Linked DNA regions of Homo sapiens: regions 1 and 2 are each linked to region 3. The links are contacts of gene promoters, found by promoter capture Hi-C in human tissues and cell types (Jung and others, 2019). All regions are on one chromosome and are shown on one strand. The core of a region is centred on a gene start or on the middle of the fragment in contact, and the rest is flanking DNA. Distances in the headings are between cores, read along the strand shown. Region 1 holds the start of LOC105371280 (a long non-coding RNA gene). Region 2 has its middle 85 kb from the start of CES1. Region 3 holds the start of CES1 (carboxylesterase 1).

Evidence for each region. The method cuts DNA at HindIII sites, captures the fragments that hold promoters and counts their contacts. A contact is called where the count stands out against the background at its distance.
Region 1: a fragment that was not itself captured here is called in contact with the fragment with the promoter of CES1 in region 3 in 3 of the 25 tissues and cell types used here (bladder, liver and spleen).
Region 2: a fragment that was not itself captured here is called in contact with the fragment with the promoter of CES1 in region 3 in 4 of the 25 tissues and cell types used here (liver, mesenchymal stem cells, spleen and 1 more).

Annotation. Positions count from the first base shown.
Region 1 is chr16:55,720,269-55,723,211 of GRCh38, reverse strand. It overlaps LOC105371280 (a long non-coding RNA gene), which reads left to right and starts at 1,376. Exons shown (of 3, transcript XR_933605.1): 1 at 1,376-1,527. The HindIII fragment of the contact is 3,146 bases long and covers 1-2,943 here.
Region 2 is chr16:55,746,875-55,749,813 of GRCh38, reverse strand. It overlaps the pseudogene CES1P2. Among named protein-coding and RNA genes, the nearest start is that of CES1, 85 kb to the left of the region's middle. The HindIII fragment of the contact is 6,048 bases long and covers 1-2,939 here.
Region 3 is chr16:55,831,833-55,834,756 of GRCh38, reverse strand. It overlaps CES1 (carboxylesterase 1), which reads left to right and starts at 1,661. Exons shown (of 14, transcript NM_001025195.2): 1 at 1,661-1,753. The coding sequence starts at 1,702. The HindIII fragment of the contact is 6,998 bases long and covers 815-2,924 here.

The DNA of each region.
Region 1 (2,943 bases), core at 276-2,775, 110 kb after region 3:
TGAGATGAACATATTGTTTTTGCTTTAAATTCTGTTTATGTGGTGAATCACATTTATTGATTTGTACTTGTTGAACCAATTATTGCATCTCAGGGATGAAGCCTACTTGATCATCGTTTATTAACATTTTGATGTGCCGCTGCATTTGGTTTCCTGGTATTTTGTTGAGGATTTTTGTGTCTATGTTCATCAGGGATATTAGCCAGAAGTTTTTTTTTTTCATTGTGACTCTTCCAGATTTTGGCATTAGGCTGATGCTGGCTTCATAGAATGAGTTAGAGAGGAGTCCCTCCTCTTGGATTTTCTTGGAATAGTTTCAGTAGAATTGGTCTCAGTTCTTCTTTGTACATGTGGTAGAATTTGGCTGTGAATTAATCTGATCCAGGACTTTTTTTGATTGGTAGGGTTTTTTTGTTGTTGTTGTAACTGATTCAATTTCAGAGTTCCATATTAGTCTCTTCAGGATTTCAATCTCTTCCTGATTCAATCTTAGGAGATTATTTCCAGGAATTTATTTATTTTCTCCAGATTTTCTAATTTGTGCACATAGAGTTATTCATAATATTATCTGAGGATCTTTTATATTTCTGTGGGATCAGGTGTAACATCATTTTTGTCATTTCTGATTGTGCTTATTTGGATCTTCTTTGATTTTGTTAATCTAGTTAGGGGCCTATTGATCTGGTTTATTTTTACTAATAACCAACTTGTAGTTTTATTGATCATTTGTATGGATTTTTGCAACTCAGTGTCAAATTCTTCTCTAATTTTAGTTTTCTTTTGCTAGCTTTGGGGTTGGTTTGTTCTCTTTTTCTAGTTCCTTTAGGTGCAAACTTACATTGTTAATTTGAGATCTTTCTAACTTCTTGATGAAGGCATTTCATGCTCTAAACTTTCCTCTTAACACTGCTTTAGCTGCATCCCAGAGATTTTGGTAAGTTGCATCCCTATTTTCAATAATTTCAAAGAATTTTTTGATTTATGCCTTAAATTTGATATTCACCCAGGAGTTATTCAGGAGTAAGTTGTTTAATTTCCATGTATTTATGCAGTTTTGAGAGATGTTCTTGATAATATTTTTATGTTTATTGCACTGTGTTCCGAGAGTGTGCTTGGTATGATTTCAACTTTACAAAAAAAATTTTAACACTTGCTTTATGACTGAGCGTGTAGTTAATCTTAGAATATGTTCTGTGTGGTCAGGTGTGGTGGCTCATACCTGTAATCCCAGCACTTTGGGAGACCAAGGCAGGCAGATCTTTTGAGGTCAGGAGTTTGAGACCAGCCTGGCCAGTGTGGTGAAACCCGGTCTCTAGTAAAAATACAAACAACAACAACAACAAACAAACAAACAAACAAACAAAAAAACAAAATTAGCCAGCCGTGATGATGGGTGTCATAATCCCAGAGATACTCAGGAGGCTGAGGCAGAAGAATCACTTGAACCTGGGAAGCGGAGGTTGCAGTGAGCCAAGATCGCACCATTGCACTCCAGCCTGGACGACAACAGCGGAACTCTGTGTGCAGGTGAGAAGAGTATTTGTTCTGCCATTGTTTGGTGGAGTGTTCTATAGATGTCTATTAGGTCTAACTGGCCAAGAGTCAAGTTTAAGTCTAGAGTTTCTTCGTTTGTTTTCTGCCTCAATGATCTGTCTAATGCTGTCAGTGGAATGTTGAAGACTCCCACTCTTATTGTGTGGTTATCTAAGTCTTTTTGTAGTCCAAGAAGAATTGTTTCATGAATTGGGGTGCTCCAATGTTGGGTGTGTATATATTTAGGATAGTTAATTTTTCTTGTTGAAGTGTACATTTTAGCATAACGTAATACCCTTCTTTGTCCTTCTTAATAGAAATCGGTTTAACATCTATTTTATCTGACATAAAAATAGTGACTGGTTCTTTTTAGTTTTCCATTTGCATGGTAGATATTTCTCCATCCCTTTACTTTGAACCTGTGGGTGTCATTACATGTGAGATGAGTCTCTTGAAGACAGCAGATGGTTGGGTCTTGTCTTTTTATCTGGCTTGCCACTCTATATCTTTTAAGTGGAGGCATTTAGCCCATTTACATTCAGGGTTAGAATAGGTATATGAGATTTTGAGCCTGTGACTGTGTTGCTAGCTTGTTGTTATGTAGACTTGGTTGTGTAGTTGCTTTATAGTACCTGCGGGCTATATTCTTAGTGTGTTTTTGTGGTAACAAGTATCACTCTTTTGATTCCATGTTTAGCACTCCCTTAATGACCTCTTGTAAGGCTGGTTTAGTTGAAACAATGTCCCTCAGCATTTGCTTATCTGAGAAGGATTTTATTTCTACTTCACTTATGAAGCTTAGTTTGAAGGAATATGAATTCTTGGTTGAAATTTCTTTCCTTTAAGGACACTAAAAATAGACCCCCAATATCTTCTGAGGTGTAAGATTTCTGCTGATAGGTCTGCTGCTAGCCTGATGGGGTTCTCTCTGTATGTGACTTGACCCTTCTCTCTAGCTGCCTTTAAGATTTTTTCTTTTGGGTTGATGTTCGTGAATCTGATGACTATGTTCCTTGAGGATGGTCATGTTGTATAGCATCTAGCGAGTTCTCTGTATTTCCCGAATTTGCATGTTAACCTCTCTAGTGAGATTAGAGAAACTTTCATGGACTATATCCCCACATATATTTTGCAAGGTTGCTTATTCTCTTTTTTTCTCTCAGGAATGCCAATGAATTGCAGATTTGGTCTCTTTACATACTTCTTGGAAGTTTTGTTCATTGAAGATTTTAATTAGGAAACAAAGCTTAGCAGGAGAGGAGAGCCAGAGAAGTGACAGGGAAGCTACAGGTTACGACAGATTTGTGAACTCAGCCAAGCACAGTGGTGGCAGGGCCTAGCTGCTACAAAGAAGACATGTTTTAGACAAATACTCATGTGTATGGGCAAAAAACTCAAGGACTGTATTTG
Region 2 (2,939 bases), core at 317-2,816, 85 kb after region 3:
CGGGGAGTTCACTATCTCCAGGGGCGGCCTCTCCATTTGTAGAGAGCTCTCATTGTCAGAGTGCTATGGTCACAGGGTCAGAAGTTTGATCGCTAGAACCTTAGAAGCTGCCCCTTCCCAATAGGCATGCCCCGCCCCCCACCCTCACCAGCTGTGCTGTGTCTTTGCCAAGAGCCTCACCCATTGCGAGCAAAGTTGGCCCAGAATTTCATCACCATCTTGCTAAGTCTGATCTCCTCTTCTGAGGCACCCTCTGTGGGGAAGAAGAAAAAAAGCCTTTGTTACTCAAAGTGTGGTCCGCGGACCTGCATTGTCAACTTCACGTGCAAACCTGCTAGAAACATAGTCTTGGCGCATGCTCCACACCCACTGAGCTGAGGTCTGCACATTTAGAAGATCCTGGTGGATTTGTGTGTACTTTACCTTTAAGCATGGCTGACCTAGGGCTCAGCAATGGGCATGCATCATTCCATGTGCTTGCCCCACCTCCCAGGGTTGCTCTCTCTTGCACACACCCACAATTCACATTCTGAAATATAACAGAACTCAAGCCTCCTAAGGGTGCATAATTGGGACATGCCCAGTGGCGATGGTGCGTCCTGAGCAGCCATGGGGTGAGTCCCATGTGATCTGTAACAGCTGAGAGTTAAGGCTTAGAAGACATCATGAAAGGATTTTTAAAAATATTGTATAATGTAAACTAAAAATAAAATCCTAACACCCCCAACTCACTGAACAGACCCTCTCTGGGCTAAGGGGACCCCAGAAAAACCCTAAACTGAGTTCCTGCCTGGAAACAGACAGGAGGTCAGACACGCCTCATCATACTCCCCCTTTTTTGTGGTTTAGACACCACCGGACGAGTATCAGCAATAAAATAAAGGTGATCATTCTGACAGAACACACTCCTTGTGGCAATAAGACACCAAATTAAAAAAAGATCGAAGGCCATGCCGGGCAAGGGTTCAGGCCTGCATCTCTACCCTTAAAGAATCCACTCTGTTCTCCCTGCTGCAAGGTGCTTCTTTTTGTCTACAGCTAAACCAGTACTGGCCTGGAGTTAAGCAAAATGAAAACAATTAAAATGGCTGCAGCTTGGATACTCGGAAGAACAGAACACTGCCCACCAGCCTTAACTACGGCTTTGATTGCATAAGAGACTGATTTCAGTTATTTTCTCCAGATAAGAATATCACCAGCCATGGACTGGACCTGGCCGGTGTACAGAGGCTGCTCACTTGCTGGGCTTTGTGTCCTGAGAAGACCCTTGGATTTATAAGCCCTAATTGTAATACATTTAAATATTAGGTCTCCACCACCAGGTGAACATGGGCAATGTTACATGCATGTTTGTTTAATACACATGTGTCAGGACTGTCTTCATGAATATCCATTGCTCCCCCTGTAACGTGTTGAACATGTATGTTTAGCCAATCTGTTCATATAAAGCTTCTACCCAACCCCTCCTCGTTCGATGAGCCTGTTTCTGGGCTTGGCCAGAGGCACCTTCCCAGCTTGAGGGATAGCAACTTTGCTGACTATAAACCACATCAAAAATAAAGTCTCCTCTCCCATTCCAAATTCATACATCCTGTGATTTCTAAATTAACAATTATTAATTATATTAAATTTAAAGGTTTATGAGGTTTTGTTAGAGACATAAAGGCAGAAACACAAACCGACACACATTAGACCTGACTCAGGGTTAACACCAATTCTAATCTCACCCTCACTCATATTCTCAGCACTTCTGGGAGAGGGAAATTGGTTGGTGGTTTCTCAACCTAGAGCAGGGCCCTGCATGTGTCCCTCCGCCTATCTTGTTGATGACACGGCCCAGGATTCTGAGTGTCGGTGGCAGAGGGCACATGATATACATCCTCCCTCATGTGTGTTAGAGCAGGAGGAAACTGGGGGACAAGCCAATGACATTCAATCCTATCACAGTGAATCCTGCTGACTATAAACCATAATTCATAATCCTGTGATTTCTAAACTAACAATTATTAAATGTATTAAATGTAAAGGTTTATGAGTTTTTGTTAGAGACAGACAGAAAGACAAACCGACACACATTAGACCTGACTCAGGGTTAACACCAACTCTAATCTCACCCTCACTCACATTCTCAGCGCTCCTGGGAGAGGGAAATTGATTGGTGGCTTCTCAACCTAGAGCACCCCTGCATGTGTCCCACCACCTGTCTTGTTGATGACATAGCCCAGGATTCTGAGTGTCTGTGGCAGAGGGTACATGGATGCACATCCTCCCTAATGTGTATTAGAGCAGGAAGAAGCTGGGGGACAACCCAATGACATTCAACCCTGTCATAGTGAATCCTGCAGGAGACCCCCCAAACACTTGTCTTGTTGATGTCACAGAACAGGATTCTGAACGCCTGTGCAGAGGGCACATGAATACACATCCTCCCTCAGGTATGTTAGAGCGGGAGGAGGTGGGGGGACAACCCGATGACATTCAACTCTGTCATACTGAATCCTGCAGAAGACACCCTCCCGCCTGTCTTGTTGATGTCACAGGCCAGGATTCTGAGTTTCTGTGCAGAGGGTACATGGATACACATCCCCCGTCATGTGTATTAGAGCAGGAGGAAGCTGGGGGACAACCTAATGACATTCAACCCTGTATAGTGAATCCTTCAGAAGACTCCCCCACACACACCCGTCTTGTTGATGTCACAGAGCAGGATTCTGAGTGGCTGTGCAAAGGGCACATGAATACACATCCCGCCTCACATATGTTAGAGTGGGAGGAAGCTGGGGGACAACCCAGTGACATTCAACCCTGTTATAGAGAATCAGTAAACTAAGACCAGGAGAGAAGAAACTTGCTGAAAGCCACCACACCAAGACAGGAACCCAGATCTCCTAACTCCAAGCTCACGGAGAGCAAGGAGCCATTACCTTTTAAAGATGGGG
Region 3 (2,924 bases), core at 412-2,911:
CATAAAGTTTACCTTTTTAAAGTGTACAATCTAGTGGTGTTTAGTATATTCCCAAAGTTGCACTAACATCATCACTATTTAATCCCAGGACATTTTTACCACCCCCAAGATAAAACTCATGCCCATTAGCAGTCACTCCTCATCCCCGTCTCTTTCCCCTTCCCCAGACCCTGTCAAACACTTTCTGTCTCCATGGATTTGACTATTTTGGAAATTACATATAAAAAGCATCATACGACATGTGGCCTTTTGTGGCTGGCTTCTTTCCTTTACCATGATGTTTTCCAGCTTCATCCACGTTGTAGCATGTTCTTCTTATGGCTGGATGATATGCCTCTGCACGCATACACCACACTTCATTTACACATTCATCAGGTCATGGACATGCGGGTTGTGCCCACTTTTTGACTAGGATGAATGACACTGCTCTTTGTGTACAAGCTTTTGTGTGGACATGCTTTCAGTTCTCTTCGGTAGACACCTAGGAGGGGAATTGCTGGGTCATATGGAAACTCTGTGTTGAACTTTTTGAGGAACTGCCTACACCGCACAACAGTTTATAACCTATTATTTTCTCCTTTCACAACGCATCCTGTCTTCATTGTTAATAAATAGCTGTGCACATCACTATTTTGAGTGAATACATCGTATTTCCTTAGCCAGCGGTACCACAGTGTGTTTAGTGAATTCCCTATTGTTGGACATTTAATAATCCCATGAAAGAGGCTTTGAGTGACTTCCTTGTGTCCCCAGCAGCTTGTAAATGACAGTTTTCCAGGTGTGCCCAGAGCACTCTGTATCCCCTTAATTTGGTGATTTCACATTGCCTTGACATCACCCCTACTGCTCCTCCACCCCATCTGTCTTGTCTACAATGGTGAGCCCCTTGAGAAGCTGAACCATGTCTTGAATTGGTCTTTGTATCCATTATACATGGCCAGGTGCCAAGCATTTTGGTAAATGTTCACAAAATGGATGGGTACTTGGATGGATGGATGATAACAGCCAGGGACTATGGGGGGACGGAGTTCATTTTTACATTCTGTCCAAAAATCCCTGCTTTGGAAAGTAGTGAGTTCTCTGACACCGATGGTGTGTGACAGGAGGCTGGACCAGTTGGCAGGATATTGTGAAGCTAATTCAGGCCTCAGAAAGGGGACTCGATGAAATTTAAGATCGCTTCCAAGCTTGAGAGCCTGGAAAGCTATGAAAACACAAGCCCTGGGAGCTGAGATATGTCCTAACTTACCCAGCTGAGCTGTGAGGTGTGAGTGGCTCTAACATTTTCCAGTTGTTTCTGAGGACCTCAGATCAAAGCTTCCCTTTGCCTAAAAGCATCTGCCTGCTGGTGTGGGCCCTTGGGGGCCGTCACAGTGCACTGAGGTTAGAGTCCTGCAAGGGTGAACCCTTATGTAACAAGTAGTTGGGCAAGTTTACAGCTCTCTGTAATCTGACAGTAGAGTCCAGACTGGTTTGATGAAAGAGGGTAAACTGTGGGTGGGCGTGGCCTGAGGCCCCACTAGAAGCCCAGGGAGATCTGAGGAAAGGGAGGGCTTTTCTGATCTCTCCCAATTAGAGGATTAGGCAATTGGCAGCGCAGGGCGGTAACTCTGGGCGGGGCTGGGCTCCAGGGCTGGACAGCACAGTCCCTCTGAACTGCACAGAGACCTCGCAGGCCCCGAGAACTGTCGCCCTTCCACGATGTGGCTCCGTGCCTTTATCCTGGCCACTCTCTCTGCTTCCGCGGCTTGGGGTGAGTCCTTCTGAAATCAAAATGCGGGGCACTTTTTGAAATCCTTGTTCTGGGCCGAGGTGGGCGCAGATGCGTAGAAAGGCAAAGACACAACAGGTCCGGCTCTGCGGCGGGGCACGACTTCCATATTAGGACTTGGACTTGGAGCAGCTGAGCCCGGCCAGCCTGGCCCGCGCGGAGACGCAGGGAGGGTGAACATCCTGAGATCGCCCTGTACTGCTCGCCCAAATGCAGGCCGACAGCCGGCCCACCTCAGGCCGCACACACGAGAAATTTAGGCAGCTCAGTTTGCTGTCCCTTAATTAGTCCCCTTACGGCTGGATCACGGAGAGCGGCTCAACATAATATTAAGAGCATCGACTCTGGAGCCAGAGTGCGTGGGTTCGAGTCCCCGCTGGGCGCTTCCTCGCTGTGTGTCCTTAGGCAAGGGACTGCGCTATTCCGTGCTTGGGTTACCCCCTCTCTGAAACAGAGGTGGCAGTGCTGCCTACCTCACTGGGCTTTGGTGAGGAGGAAATGGGTGGCTGTTTCTAAAGCACTCTTGGCAGCGCCTGGTATGTAGAAAGCACGAAAAAGGGATGGATAAATAAAGGCGCTGTTTAAAAACGTAGTGTATGAATAGAAAATTTGAGCTGTGGTCAGGCCACTATATCAGGACCTCTTGCCATTAAAAAGACAGTTTCTTACTCATGTTCTCAACAGGAGGGGGACACCAGTGCGCGGGGCACAAGGGGAAGCAGCAGAGCCTGGGGAGGGGACAGGGCGGATCTGAGGCCAAGGGGCTTTTACTGTGGCTTCCAAGGATAGAAGAGGAAAGGCAGGGCAGGCAGGCTGAGGACTGGCAAGTTGGGATACTTCAGGGGCTCTGGGGCACAGGGGCTGTTCCTAATTGTTTTGTACCTAGCCCTGGCATGATTAGGGCAGGTGGGTAGTGGCCAGGGCATGGCAACCCGATCAAAGAGGCAGTTGGGGTGTGGGCTCTGGGGTGGCTGGACCCTGGGAGGGAGTTTCTCCAAGGTCAACAAGGCCTCAGATGCCAGAGCATCAGAATACAGAAAGCAAAACACATGGTACATAGAGGGGTGCAGCGAGGGGCCTCGAAATACCCCCATGCCATTTTATAGACAGAGAAACTGAGACTCACACAGGGAAATGTACTTGCCCAGGGTCA